2 separate regions of the Homo sapiens genome follow, and region 1 is linked to region 2. Evidence: promoter capture Hi-C in human tissues and cell types (Jung and others, 2019). All regions are on one chromosome and are shown on one strand. Each heading gives the region's core, a stretch centred on a gene start or on the middle of the fragment in contact. The rest is flanking DNA. Distances are from core to core; before and after follow the strand shown.

The links. The method cuts DNA at HindIII sites, captures the fragments that hold promoters and counts their contacts. A contact is called where the count stands out against the background at its distance.
Region 1: a fragment that was not itself captured here is called in contact with the fragment with the promoter of NEDD4L in region 2 in 1 of the 25 tissues and cell types used here (lymphoblastoid cells).

The regions. Positions count from the first base shown.
Region 1 is chr18:58,758,067-58,765,591 of GRCh38, forward strand. All of the region lies in intron 1 of LOC105372146 (a long non-coding RNA gene), which reads right to left. Among named protein-coding and RNA genes, the nearest start is that of LINC01926, 52 kb to the right of the region's middle. RefSeq lists enhancers at 3,917-3,966, 6,088-6,357. The HindIII fragment of the contact is 6,881 bases long and covers 2,540-7,525 here.
Region 2 is chr18:58,039,247-58,046,851 of GRCh38, forward strand. NEDD4L (NEDD4 like E3 ubiquitin protein ligase) reads left to right here and starts at 4,980. Exons shown (of 31, transcript NM_001144967.3): 1 at 4,980-5,462. The coding sequence starts at 5,415. RefSeq lists a cis regulatory region at 2,373-2,785 and silencers at 4,675-5,044, 5,065-5,614. The HindIII fragment of the contact is 3,203 bases long and covers 3,315-6,517 here.

The sequences.
Region 1 (7,525 bases), core at 4,730-7,229, 720 kb after region 2:
ATTTGCTAATTATAATGCATTAGTATGCTAAAAGGCACTCCCACCAGCATCATGACAGTTTACAGATGCCATGCGATGTCCAGAAGTTACCCTATGTAGTCTAAAAAGGGGAGGGACCCTCAGTTCCAGGAAATCACTTTCCCAGAAAACTCATGAACAACCCCCCCCGGTTTTGCATATGATCAATAAGTAACCATGAATATACTCCGTCCAGCAGCCCATGCCACACCTCTGCCTATGGAGTAACTACTCTCATTCCTTTACTTTCTTAATAAACTCCTTTGATAAACTTTATGGACTCACCCTGAATTCTTTTGTGCACAAGATCCAAGAACACTCTCTTGGGGTCTGGATCAAGACCTCCTTCCAGTAAAAACTTTGCCAGGCTCACCCCTCTTCTTTCTTCAAATTGTACCTTAAGTGACACATCCTTCAGAAAAACTTACTGCTCAGCCTCCAAATTGGATAAAATTCCCCTTTGCACATTCCCAGGGAGCCTCGGCTTGCCCCATCAGGGGCCCTATCCCTCAGCACTGCACCACCTCTCCTTGTCCTCCTTTCCAGCATCAGGCAGACTCTGCAGGGCACGCCCAAGAGCTGGAGCTTAAGCTCTCTCCTTGGAGTCCCAGTCTCTTTCCCACTACACTCATCTCAGCAGACGACCACTCAGCTCACTCCATGGAGACACAGAGGCCATAGGAGCCCACGCCCCGTTCCCGTCCCCAGCCTCCATGCTCTCTCGTTCCCACCCCACTCTGCGCCCCCACCAAGCTCAGAGTTCCAGATACTTCTCCAGGGCTGAGCTTCACATGAGATCCCATCTCCTCTGTCAGCCTCTGGGTTTTTACCCATCTGTTGCCAAATTCACCCAGGATGCCAAATTCATAGAAGCACTCCCTAAGGACCTGCCCCTGCTCGCTCATCCGTGGGGCTCACATTGTCCTCCCTTTCTGATATATACAGCCTCTCCCTGGACACTGGCTTCTTGACCAGAGGCTACAACATCACCCCACAAGGCATTTCTCAATCCCGGGTGCCCTCTTCAACTCTCCCTCATTCTCTCCCACACTACTCAATAACACCACCTACACCCACATCTCCATTCCTTCACATCCTGTTCATGCCTCAGTCTCCCAATCCAACCTCAATTATGAGATGAATGAAAAATGGAGAATGCTTTTTTTTGAGATGGAGTCTCGCTCTGTTGCGAGGCTGGAGTGCAGTGGCATGATCTCAGCTCACTGCAACCTCCACCTTCCAGGTTCAAGCGACTCTCCTGCCTCAGCCTCCCAAGTAGCTGGGATTACAGGCGTGCGCCACCATGCCCAGCTAATTTTTGTATTTTTAGTAGAGACGGGGTTTCACCACATTGGCCAGGCTGATCTCAAACTCCTGGGTTCAGGTGATCCACCTGCCTTGGCCTCCCAAAGTGCTGGGATTACAGGCATGAGCCACCATGCCCGGCTGAAGAATGCCTTTTTGTTTGTTCAGTGTATGGCGGCTACAATCTACTTTGAGATACTTCAGACCTTTTTAAAGAATGAATTCCTGGCTGGGCGCAGTGGCTCATGCCTGTAATCCCAGCACTTTGGGAGGCCAAGGCGGGTGGATCACCTGATGCCAGGGGTTCGAGACCAGCCTGGCCAATGTGGTGAAACCCCATCTCTACTAAAAATACAAAAATTAGCTAGGCATGATGACAGGTGCCTGTAATCCCAGCTACTTGGGAGGCTGAAGCAGGAGAATCACTTGAACCTGGGAGGCGGAGGTTGCAGTGAGCTGAGATCACGCCATTGCACTCCAGTCTGGGTGACAGAGTGAGACTGTCTCCCAAAAAAAAAAAAAAAAAAAGAATGACTGATGAAACCTTAGTGAGGGAGGCACACGTGCATCCTAACCTAAGCAGGCGGTCCAGGGAGAGGGCACTGGCTCTCGCTTCAGCCAACCTTGCGAAGCCAACCTGAGATTCCCCATCCCTGGAAAAATGCTTCCTTTAAGATCTCCCAGATCATCTTTACATGGCTGTGCTGTCAATGAGCATTTTTGAATGTTCTCATTTGCTTTCAGAATTCTTCCTGGGCATTATCTGATCCCCTCAGATCTCACAGATGCCACATGCCCAAAAAACCTTGCTGCCGTTTATTTCTTCCTGAGGTGGAGTCTTCCCTTCAGTGGAAACAGCCCACCGTTGCTGCCACCCCTTCTGCTGGGACACCCTGGGGACTCGATGTCAACACTGCAAATCCCTAGAATTTACTGCAGTTCTTTTTGCTATGGGGAAGAGATGGGGTGAGCAGAAGTGCAAAAAGATGCCTTCTTGCCACCTAGTTTCTAGTCACTGCCTTCCTCTCCCAAATGATGCCTCCACTCATCCACTCTAAAGTCCCAATTCCTCAGCTTTCAGGCAGAGAGCCCACTACTACACCACTGTAAGTTGTGACTGACTAGCCCTCCCAGGAACATTGGAAAATTTTGAGGGAGAGAAAGAAAAAAGGAAGAGAAGGAATGAGACAGAAATCTCTCCTAGAAACAGCCACACATGGCCAGCGCAGTGGCTCACGCCTGTAATCCCAGTACTTTGGGAGGCCAAGATGGGCGGATCACGAGGTCAAGAGAACAAGACAATCCTGGCCAACATGGTGAAACCCCGTCTCTACTAAAATACAAAAAAATTAGCTGGGCATGGTGGCGCGTGCCTGTAGTCCCAGCTACTCTGGAGGCTGAGGCAGGGGAATCACTTGAACCTATGAGGCGGAGGTTGCAGTGAGCCAAGATCGTGCCAGCCTGGTGACAGAGCAAGTCTCCATCACAAAAAATAAATAAATAAAATACAAAAATAAATAGAAAAAGAAACAGCCACACATGGACCAGAAAGTTGAGCCTCTGGTGACTTGACTTCAGGTGCTGCGGCAGGCAGGTGGCCCAGGGAGTAACTGGGGAGTGAAAATGAGAATGCAGCACATGGACCAACTCCTGTTGAGCCTCTTAGCAAAAGCCAGCCCTGTCCAGTAGAGCATTTTCCAACTGTTGCAAAAATTACCCTATGAACACCTCTCTCCCCAGAGTTCAAACTCGCACCTTTGATGATACTGCTTCCTGCTGCCATTGCCTATTCTGATGTCAGAGCAGCCATTCCCATGGAAAATGGAATGGAAAGCTAAATGGAGAGTGAGTAGGGGTTAAGACTTCTCTAAAATACCGCGGCTGCCAGGCAATTTCATTAAGGAGAAACAGAGATGGACAATGTCATAAACATTCTCCAGCCATCAGAAGAAACCACTTCCAGGAAAAGTAAATTTTGTGGTCGTAAACACTCACAGCAAGGGCCAGGCCACAGGCAGCGTGGCACTGGCAGAGAGCAGTGGTTGAGGTGAAAGTCACCCTGGGGCCCAGGTCTCAAACTTACCCTGGCTAGACTGAACCAGAACATTTTTCCGTTTCTTTTCCGTAAATTAATGTTTAAAAGTTCCCCTCCCCACATAATCCCAATCTCACTTTCAAGAGATAATGCTATCTCTTCAGTGTATATTTCTTCCGGTTGTATTATGCATATAAATCTCCAGACCATATGGACACACACACACATATGCACACACACGTATGAGTATTATACACATACATGTGTACAGATATCTTTTATACATGTATACACACAGGTGTACACATATGTGCATATGTGAGATCATGCTGAGCTCACCGTTTTCCAGTTCCTACTTTCACTTCACAATAGCTCTTGGCCATCTTCCACCACAGTGTATTTAGAGTGACTCTATAAATAGAACGATTTCTAATGCACCTTTCAGATTTCAACTCTTTAAATAAATGCGACAAGGGCACATCTCGTGGTCCAAGGTCGTGACTGCTAAGGCCCAGAGAACACAACAAATTTGCTGGCTTCAGCCGTGCTGACCTGCTGGAAGATGGGTACAGGCTCCTAAGTGGATGCTGCCATTTGTGCGCCTCCCAGCCACGCACCCCACCCTCATATACACACTATCCCTTGAGGAACATTTACCTTCCTTCCCGCCCCAGGTGTTTGTGACTTGGTGGGTAGTGGGTGACAGAGATGCACCTGTGTCTTCAGAACACAGGCCACTGAAGGACAGCAGGCCCGGGGCTGGTGGGGGCCTGAGCATGCCCTCCCTCACCAGGCTGACCAGGCTTGCATGCAGTGGGGCAGAGGCAGTGGAACTATCCAGAAAACATGCCCATCCCCCCGCCCAAGCCATCACAATGGGAGCTGAGTACAGGGTCACTAGGACAAAGAGTGAATGGAACCATCTTGAAAACAGCGGTGATGTTTCCTGTCTCCGCTGGCACAGGCCTCCGTGGAGCCCACGTTCTTTTCACAGAGTTCAAGTTGCTCAAAGAAATAAGGAGAGGCCACTTGTGAGCAGTGGTCCTCCAGGTGAAACCCAGAGGGCGTCGGGATGCCCACAGGTTCCTCAGGAAACTCATGCGGGGAGACATGGGGGTGCCAGGGACACGCCTCCACCCCACCATGGCTGCCCATAGCAGGGTCCGTGGCAAAGGGACCAGGTGGCCCATGGGTTAGTGGGAGCAGATGCCCAACCACCTCCTCCAGGCCCCACTGCCCCCTTGGGCCACCACAGAGACCTCCAACTTCTCCATCCTCTCTGTCTCTCCCTCTCTCTCCCCACTTGCTCTCTTCCTCAAGGGCCCTTTCCCTGTCAACTACCACTGGCACCCGGCTGGAGGAACAGGGCAGGTTTGCCTGTTAGTACCTGCGGCAACTCATCCCCCAGCCCCTAACTTTGAGGCGATCCCATTTTCCTCCTGTATTCCCTGAGCTTGACACAGCTGAATGTGGAAGACCCCAGGGCAACAAGAGGCTTGGGAAGGAAGGTCACACTGGAGTCGCGGGGGAAGGGTCACCCAGGCACAGGTACTCAGCATAGACTGCAGATGCTGGCCAGCCAGTCCTACACCCAGCTTACTGCAGAGGCACGACCACACTTCTGCTGCAAGGCTGGGGGAGACTCTGTGGTTTCGGTGAGGAAGAGGACAAGGAGGTGAGCGAGCCAGGAACAGCCCCCGCATGTCTCTTATCACGCCTTCATTCCCCTCTCCCCGCAGCACTGAGCTTCTGTGTTTTCTTTCCCCCAAGACTGTTCTCTCGGCTGCTGGTGGCAAAGGAGAGGGCTGCGGGGGAAGGAGAGAGAAAGGGGGGACCCCAGATGATCCTCCTATTCCCTAAGCTCTCAAAGTCTTCAGATATCTACAGCTTTGCTGCTCTAACCGCTCATTGTGAAAAGAATGAGTCTTATACTTGAATACAACCCTAAAATCAAAAGAATGACATCTAACCCGCTGTTCACCATAAATCTTTTTTTTTTTTAATTTTTGAGACAGAATCTCACTCTATCACCCAGGCTGGAGTGCAGTGGCATGATCTCGGCTCACTCCAACTTCTGCCTCCTGGGTTCAATTGATTCTCCTACCTCAGCTTCCTCAGTAGCTGGGATTAGGGGTGTGCACCACCATGCCCAGCTGATTTTTGCATTTTTAGTAGCAACGGGATTTCACCATGTTGGCCAGGCTGGTCTCAAACTCCTAACCTCAAGTAATCTGTCTACCTTGGCGTCCTAAATTGCTGGGATTACAGGCGTGAGCCACAGCGCCCAGCTCGGCCCATAAATAATTTAAAAGACTGCATTTCTACTGTCTGACTCCATTTCTGTGAAGAGTCCAGGAAAGGCAAATCTCTAGTGATAGGGTAGGCTACCAGGGACTGGGGGCCCGGGAAGGTGGGAGAAACCGGAAGGGACTGCCAATGGGTATGGGGACTCTTTTAGGGTGATAAAAAAATGTTCTAAAATTGATTGTGATGATCAATGATCTACAAATATACTAAATTGGTGAATGTCTGGCATGTGAATTATTTCTCAATAAAGCTGGTTTCTTTTAGAGAAAGTAGTTCAAAATTTCTGAGGCTGTTTGGTTTTTGTTTTTTTAAAAAAGCAAATCATTGGCCCCGGCGTGGTAGCTCACGCCTGTAATCCCAGCACTTTAGGAAGCTGAGGTAGGCAGATCACTTGAGGGTCAGGAGTTCGAGACCAGCCTGGCTAACATGGTGAAACCCCATCTCTACTAAAAATACAAAAATTAGCCAGGTGCAGTGGCACACACCTGTAGTCCCAGCTACTTGGGAGGCTAAAGCAGGAGAACTGCTGGAACCCAGGAGGTGGAGCCACTGCACTCCAGCTATGAGAGGATAAATGCCCACTATTGTAAGGCCCAAGCTAGTGGTAATTTATTAGAACAACCCTAGGAAACTAATGCAGAAAGGCGGAGGGGAACCGCAAGCTCCTTTGTGATCCACCCCTTTGTCTTCCGAAAGGCTTCGTTTAGATTCAGAGCCTTCTGTTGCAGTCTCTTGCTCCCCCTCCTGGCTCAAAGGAAGAACTGTGCCCCCTTCAGTCCCACGGAGATTTGATCTCTCTAATGAAGTGGGAGGAGAGAGGAGTTCGCAAAACTTAGAAATGCTGTTGCAAGAAAAAAAAATTTTTTTTTAGACAGGGTGTCTGTCACCCAGGCTGGAGTGCAGTGGCTTGATCACGGCTCACTGCAGCCTCGACCGCCAGGGCTCAAGTGATTCTCCACTATGCCCCGCTAATTTTGTTTATTTTTTGTAGGGATGGGTCTTGCTATATTGCCCAGGCTGGTCTTAAACTCCTGGGCTCAAGCAATTCTCCCACCTCAGCCTCTCAAAGTGCTGGGATTATAGGTGTAAGCCACCGTGCCTAGCAGAAAAAATAATTTTAATGGTGCATTATTTTCCCATCTTGAGAGAAGAGTGAAGACTTAGCACTTGACCTGAAAGCTTAGCTCCATCCTATGCCCTCATCATTCCTGGTAATTTCAACTCCACGTTGATGACCCACACAATTCTTCTCTTGGCTCTTTGGCTTCCTCATCCACAGAGACTTCTTGTAACCCAACCATACACCACCCAAGAGATATCCTGGACCTTGTCATCACAAAAATTACACTCTTCCAAAATCATGGATTTAAATTTTGTCCTCTCTGATTACAAAGCCCTATCTTTCAGCCCACTTTCTCAAGTGCCCCTTCAATATCACAAGTCACCAGAATCAAGATGCTAACACTTGACCCCTCTTATTTCACTCAAATCTCGACTTATTTTCTTGTCTAACCAGATTCTTTGTTTCGTCTATTCGCTCTCACAAACACCAACTCCCCTGATCCATTCTTTTACTTTCAACTGGCAAAACTCCAACCCCCACCAACTTCCACACACTTCTCTCTACTTAAGCCCCTCATTCTCCTTCTCCTCCTACCCTCCCACTCCTGAGAGCCTTGCTTCACCCGTCACTGAAAAACTGAAGCCATCACAGCGTATTATTAACCCTCTTGCATCGATAGTTTTCTTTCTTCCTGTTACAATGGAGGACTTGTCACTCCTGTCTAACCCCTCCACGTAGACTCTGGGTTGCATCCCCTTTTATTTATTTTCTTTTAGAGACAGGTTCTCACTCTCTAG
Region 2 (7,605 bases), core at 3,730-6,229:
GGAGTGCAGTGGTGTGATCTCGGCACACCTCAGCCTCAACCTCCCAGGCTCAAGGGACCCTCCTGCCTCAGCTCCTTGAGTAGCTGAGACTACAGGCGCAAGCCACCAGGCCCAGCGAATTCTTGTATTTTTTGTTTTTAGAGATGAGGTCTCACTTTGTTGCCCAGCTGGTCTCGAACTCCTGGACTCAAGGGATCTGTCCACTTCAGCCTCCCAAAGTGTTGGGATTACAGGTGTGAGCCACTGTGCTTGGCCTCAGGCATTTCTTCATTAATAGCATTGCAAGAATGGCCTAATGTAGCTATTTTTATACAAAAAGATGAGCTATTTACAAGTCATTCTTTGCTACCCACCTCTATATTTGTCAAAAATTTGAAGCATAATATAGATTTCTTATATGATCATAAACGGCTTAAATTTGTTACATTTCTGTGTGTCAAGGAATGGTGCTGAGTTCCAAGATGATACCAGTTTTTACAGGTTTGTGGCCATCTTCGAAATGTCTGCTTAATAGGCCTTCTTTTTAAAGAAGACAAATCATCACTGAAAATTGAAGAGAAAAATCGAGTGTTATTTATATGAAACTTAAACATGTGACATTATGTATTCTTCTTCTTTGGGTACTTCCCAGATGTGATTATGATCTACATAGTTTTGCTAAGACAACTCAATAATTTGTAAAGAGGCTTAGCATTAAAATGTTCCCTATTTGTGATTACCCATTGTACTTTAAAATTGTTCCTGCTAATTTTTCATTTCTGATGATCCAAGTGAAGAGTATTTGCCAAACACCCACAGTATCAAATCTAAGATGCTAAAGGCAGCCTGCAAAGGGAACAAAGGGAAACGAATTCTAGAGGAGACTCTACAAGTTAAGGTTCTATGTAATTGTTGGGTAGATGCAAAACGGACTGGAGGAAACATTGCTTTTGATACACCTGCTGAATAGTTCCCTTTAAGGGTTGTCCTCCCTCACCCCCAAAGAAATTGGATTACTAGGTTGGGCTAGGTGGCTCATGTCTGTAATCCCAGCACTTTGGGAGGCCGAGGCAGGTGGATCACGAGGTCAGGAGATCGAGACCATCCTGACTAACAAGGTGAAACCCCGTCTCTACTAAAAATACAAAAAATTAGCCGGGCGTGGTGGCGGGCGCCTGTAGTCCCAGCTGCTTGGGAGGCTGAGGCAGGAGAATGCCGTGAACCCAGGAGGCGGAGCTTGCAGTGAGCCGAGATCACGCCACTGCACTCCAGCCTGGGCAGCAGAGCGAGACTCCATCTCAAAAAAAAAAAAAAAAAAAAAGAAAGAAAGAAAAGAAATTGGATTACTAATCTGAGACTTCAGAGTAGATGATGGGTAAACTGATTGATGATGCTAGTCTTCTAAGTATGTTTGTTTATATTCTACCTCACTCCACAAAAGATTTGAGTGTGTTTATAACATGCAATTTCCTCTAAGTTGAAAAAAAACGAATGAAAAAACAGAGTGGTGGAAAATATATAAAGAAAAGGCATATAGGCTGGGCTCAGTAGCTCATGCCTGTAATCCTAACACTTTGGGAGGCCAAGGTGGGAGGATCACTTGAAGCCTAGAATTCGAGACCAGCCTGGGCAAGGGAGACCCCATCTCTACAAAAAACAAAAAACCTTAGCCGGTACAATGGTGTGCTCCTGTAGTCCCAGCTACTTGGGAGGCTGAGGTGGGAGGATCACTTGAGTCCTGGAGTTTGAGGGTACAGTGTGCTGTGATCATGCCACTGTTCTCCAGTCTGGACAACAGAGCAAGAACTTGTCTCTCGGGGAAAAGGAAAAGAAAAAGAAAAAAAAAAAGAATAGTAATATAAATCTAGGCCAGATGTCTCTAAACTTGGCAGTGGTGCATTAGGATCACCTGGGGAACTTTTAAAGCTCCTGATGCCCATGTGGCACCCTGTACTAATTAAATCATAACGCCTGGGAGTGGGAGGCAGAGAGGAGCAGTAGTAAAAATTCCCAAATGTTTCTATGTATAGCAAAATTTGGAAACTAAGCTGATGTTCTCAGCCTTAAATGCACATTAGCATCACCTGGGAGGCTGTTGAAACTACTGATGTCAGAATCCATTAAATCATAGCCTCTGATGCTGGTTACCGGGCACTTAGTCTATTTGAAAGCTCCCCAGGTGATTGCAATGTACATGCTGAGTAGAGAACCACAGCACTGGGGGAAAGTTGGTATATAGTTACAAAAGGGATTTTTTTTAATGGGTTCTTTTATGGCTTAAGACCATGAAACTGGTTCTGAGCTTCCTGGTGGCCAAAGTAGATAGAAAAACACAGTCGGTTTTAATAATTTTGGTCATCTGCCATGCAAAAGCTTACCAGTTTCTTGAAAGCAAAAGAGCTTTTCTTCATAGATCTGAAATAAATGTCTAGTTTATTAGTCTTCTCACAGAGGATGTTGATGTCATGGATCACGATTTTATAAACACCCCACAATAAGTGACATATGGCAAGTTTCATATTATAGTTCCTAATAACCATCCCTCAGGGAAAGACAAGGACATGACCCTGAGTGCAGGGCTATAGGCTGTTGCGGTGGGTGTGTGGGAGTAGATGATAAAAGACAGGAAGAGAAACTGCCACACCCCTCTACAGTTTCCAGATAACATAGCCTTACCCAAAGGCGAAGCCTGGAATTGTGTACCTCCAGGATGTGGAAGGCGTGTCCTGTGTAATTAGAAATTATAATTTTCTATCAGCACATTTTAAGAATTATTTATTTATGTATTTATTTATTTAGAGACACAGGGTCTTTCTCTGTCATCCAGGCTGGAGTGCAATGGCACGATCATAGCTCACTGTAACCTTGAACTTCTGGGCTCAAGTGAACCTCTAGTCTTAGCCTCCTGAGTAGCTAGGACTATGGGCCCATGCCACCACACCTGGCAAATTTTTAATTTTTTTTTTTTTTTGTAGGGACAGGGGTCTCTCTATATTGCCCAGGCTGGTCTCGAACTCCTGGCCTCAAATGATCCTCCTGCCTCTGCCTCCCAAAATGCTAGCATTATTATTCAATTACTTTTCTTCCTTTATAATATAAACTGTACAAATTTTACAAAGGTTTGGCTAGTGAGGGTAGGTAGAGAAGCACTGACTCCCATCCATGAGGGTCACAGGCTAGGGCAAGGGCATCTGAGAATGCGTGTGTGTGTGTGTGTGTGTGTGTGAGAGAGAGAGAGAGAAAGACAGAGTGTGCACGTGTACCTTTTGTTTATCAAAAGACTTTAGGGTTGTTTTTTTTTGTTTTTGTTTTTTTTGAGACGGAGTCTCGCTCTGTGGTCCAGGCTGGAGTGCAGTGGCGCAGTCTCGGCTCACTGCAACCTCCGCCTCCCAGGTTCAAGGGATCCTCATGCCTCAGCCTCCCCGAGTAGCTGGGATTACAGGCGCCCGCCACCACGCCTGGGTAATTTTTGTATTTTTAGTAGAGATGGAGTTTCACCACATTGGCCAGCTGGTCTTGAACTACCGATCTTATGATCCGCCCGCCTCAGCCTCCCAAAGTGCTGGGATTACAGGTTTGAGCCACCGTGCCCGGTCTAAAGACTCGAGGTTTGAAAGGGTTGAAAAACCTCAGTATTGAAAGAATGGACAGAAATCTGACTTTTAAATAGTCCTCCATAAATAGTTCTCATTGGGGGTTTTGTGGCCTGTAAGTACTGTGGACTTGACGGCTCAAGACTTCTAGAGAAGGCTTCTGAGTAGGATGTTGACTCCATGGGGCTAAGTCGTCAAAGGAAACCCATTCTACGGCACAGGTTTTAAGCCAGTCATGCTGCAGGAAGGCAAAGGAGAGCTTAAGGTAGCATGGGTGGGCTCTTTTGAAAACGAACTAGCAGGGCGAACAGCAGATATTTAGTTATGTAGCTGGCAACGAGGAATATGATTCCTTCGGGTCACGCGAGTTCTCTCTGAACTTCCTTGAATGAAAATCCTAAATGCATCCTGGTAATACCCAAGTAGGCACTTTGACGTTTCCTTTTCAAAGGCAAATGGAATGTTCTGCGTCTGTTTTCTTTTTGAACTCCCAACTGCACTTAACATCTAAATTTAAGGAAAGGCTTCCGAAAAAGTCGACTGACGAATTTCTTTCACTTATTTAAAGTAGTCTCTTGCAGTCCTATAAATCGGAAGGATTAAATGAACTGCTTGCTAGAGAAACGGTAGCTGGGTGGTGGGAAGAATCCTACGGTGGCTAATAAGACGTCTCGATCATTTGCATATGCAAAGGATAACCTTAAGCTTGAGTTTGATATTTCACGTTGCGGCTCACAAATGAACTGCTTTTTATTCAAAGAACCATGCTGTCTGTTTTCGCGTGGGTGGGTGTGTAACCGGGGCGGGCGCTATGTTGGTTTTGTTCCCTGCAAGGTTGACACAGGCAATGGCGACTTGCGGCCACACTGGGGCAGCCTCTCCTCGGCTGGCAGCCGGGCCGGGCGGCTCGCTCCCGGGAGCTGACAATGTAGCCAAGTCCTGCTCGTCGGGGCCGCAAAGAATTTAAAGGGGTCTAGAAACATCCATCTTTTCCCCTTTTCACAGTTAACAGCGAGCTCAGGGCTCTCGGTAAAAAGACCACCGGGAGGAAGAAACGCTCAGGGCGTTTTTGTTATTGTTCGCAAAATCCTCTATCGCCCCCAAACGTCCAGCCCGCCCCCTCCCTAAAGCGGAGGGAAACCGGGAGAGGAGGGAGGGTCGGCGGCGCCGGCCAAGCGCGCCAGTACACGCCCCTGCGGATCCGCCCCGCGGCCGGGTGACCCCCGCCGCGCCGCGCTGGAGGCCCCGGGCCGGGGTGGGCGTGGGGCTGAACTCCGCCACCCCCGCAGCCCGCGGCCCGCTCGCCAGCCCGGCCTGTGATTGGCTTGGGGGGCGCGTGTGCCCGCCCCGGCGAACGGGGAGGGTACCCTCGCGGCGCCGGTGGGAGGAGGCGGAGGAGGGGGCGGAGAGAGCGGGGGCCCGGACGGCGCTAGCGAGGAGGCGGGCGAGCCGGGTCCCCGGGAGCGCAGAGGAGGCTCGGAGGGGGGCGGAGAGCGGCGGGGCGGGAGGGAGGCGCGGGTCGCGGGGAGGGAAAGCCCGGCCGGGTCTGCGCCGCCGCCGCGCGCAGTGAGAGGCGCCGGGGCTGCCGCCCGGTGCTCGGCGCGCTCTCGGGAGCCGCCCGCCCGCTGGTCCCGCAGCCTTCCGGGAGGAAGCGGTGCCGGCAGCGTCCAGGGCGCGCTCTCGGGCACCCTCACCTGCCGGCGCCCGGCCGCTTACCCGGCAGGGCGTGCGCAGGGTAGGGTGCGGGACCGGGGGGACCTGGAGGCAGAGGGGAGAACCGGCCGTCCGCGCCGCAGCACAGCCGCTGGGAGCGCCTCAGACCCCGCGCGGGGCGCCGGCTCCATGGCGACCGGGCTCGGGGAGCCGGTCTATGGACTTTCCGAAGACGAGGTGAGTGGCACCCCCTTCCTGCTCGGGACTCCCCGGGGAGTTCCTATCCCGCGCCGGCAGGGGGAGGGGAAAGGGGCCGTCCCCGGGGTGCTCGTGCCCAGCGTCTGCAGGGGAGCCCCAAAGCGGGAGCGCCCCGGAGCGGGATCCAGGGGAGCTTGGGTCCTTCCGCACCCCCCACCCTCCGCAAGCCGAGCTCATTGTTTGTAAATAAAGCGGCGCGACGCCCTTGGAGCTGGGGGTTCACTCCGCAGCTCCTCGCTTTCGGGAGGAGAGGGAGGGGGCATGCGTGCCTCTCTTCCCTCTTCCTCTCCAAGCAGCGTCTCCCGGGGCTGTTGGGCAACTTTCCGCCTCTCGCCCCTGCAGCCCGGGAGTCCATGATGCATGTCACGTCTGGGTCGCGCGGCTGGAGACCCGGGACTGCGGAGAAGCCGGATCGTTTCCCCCTGGAACTTTCTCTCTCATGATTGTGTGGATCAGCAGGCGCTCAGAAGCCTGTGCGTGCTTATCCCGGCGGGAATGGGGGACACGCTGCGTGTGTCCCTCCCCTCGTTTTGCAAAGTCTACGGCCAGGATTGTGGATTTCGGAGCCTCGGTGGGGGAGGTGTTCAAGGCTGGTGGCAGGTGCTCCTGGAAACTTGGGGAGGAAGCTTGCAGCCCTGCCATTTTTTCCTCCCGAGGATTCAAAGCCCGGCACCTCCAGGGTGGGTGGGGAGAGGAAAGCTTAATTGATCTCTTTTATTAATAAAGCGACTGAATAAGCCACGCCTCCCAGGCGGTCGGTTTCACTGGAAAGGGCTTTGTTTTTACCTTCATTCTCTCTTCCGTGTCTCCCACTCCCCCCTTTTGAAACAATCCTGCTAAATCACTGCCTAGTCCTCTCTCGACCAGCCACGCTCGGCTCTTATTGGTATGTTGCTCTGCCAAAAAGGGGGGTGGGACGCTTGTCGCGGGCGCGGCGTGACAGGCAGGCTGGATGGAGCAGGTAGGAGTGGTTTGCCATCTGGCGGGGTGCGCGCTCAGGTCTGGCTCCCCTTTCGAGAGGTGAATTTTACAACCCAAGAAGCATTACTCAGCAGGGAGGTATTTCCTATCCTGGTTGTGCATTTCATGAAAAGTTGATGCCTGGAAATTCAGGCGTTCTCGATTTCTCTTTCTTCCCCTCCCTCCTTTCTTTTCAGAGGTTCCCTCTTTCTCTCGTGTTGGGGGTGGGGTTGGAAGAAAGGCTATTATCTGAGACAGGCTCGCGTTATGGCTCCGCTTTCTGCGGCTCTCCTACCCTGGCATGGTGTGTGTGTGTGCCTGTGTGCTACGTAAGTGTGGAATGAAAGGTATTTTGGGGTGGGAAGGGTGTTTAGGGTATGAATTTTTTTCTTAGCGGTGCTAGGCAAAGCTTGATGTATTTATTTGATCAAAGAATGATCACAGTGCAAATAATGTGTGATTTGTGTGTTTATTTTGCCTCGCTGTGCTTTTGTAAAATAATTTCCCGTTTTGTGTAACTACCTGGGGATAGGTGACAGTAGCATTGTTTCATTGACCCGGGGGGCTTCTCCTCTCCCTCCTGGCTTCTCTCTTTGAGGAGCTTTCCCTTGCATCCTCTACTTCTCCATTTAATTAGTGGCAGTAGAGGGCAGGCCCTGAGTTGCAGAGACGCAGACATTCCTAAACAAAGGGGCTGCTTGGGTTGACGTATTGTGGGGGGTGGGGGTGAGGACAGCTGCATTTCATCCTAGGTTCTTTTAAAAAATGTTTTAATAACATGATTATTTGTAAAAACTCCCCCGAAAAAACGATTTTAAGAGTGTTTTGGGAAGTGCAGCTGGATAAATGAAACACGTTAATGTCACTGTTGTTTGTGCTTTATTTACATTGGCAGTGAGTGTCAGAATCTACCTAGAGCACATCTTGCCACTTTTGTCCACAGGAGTCACTACTAATCATCATAACTGATGTCTAGTGTGAAAGTGAAGCTTGGAATGTAAACAGAGTCCGAGTGTGTGTTGGCATGTGACTGGATTCACTCCTGCATGTTGCTAGAAGGGAATTTGGGGCTGTATAGGAAATAGCAAGAGGTGATGAAGACACCTTTTATTATCTATTTATTGCCATGTCGCTGGTAGTATTTAGTTCCACACACATTGTA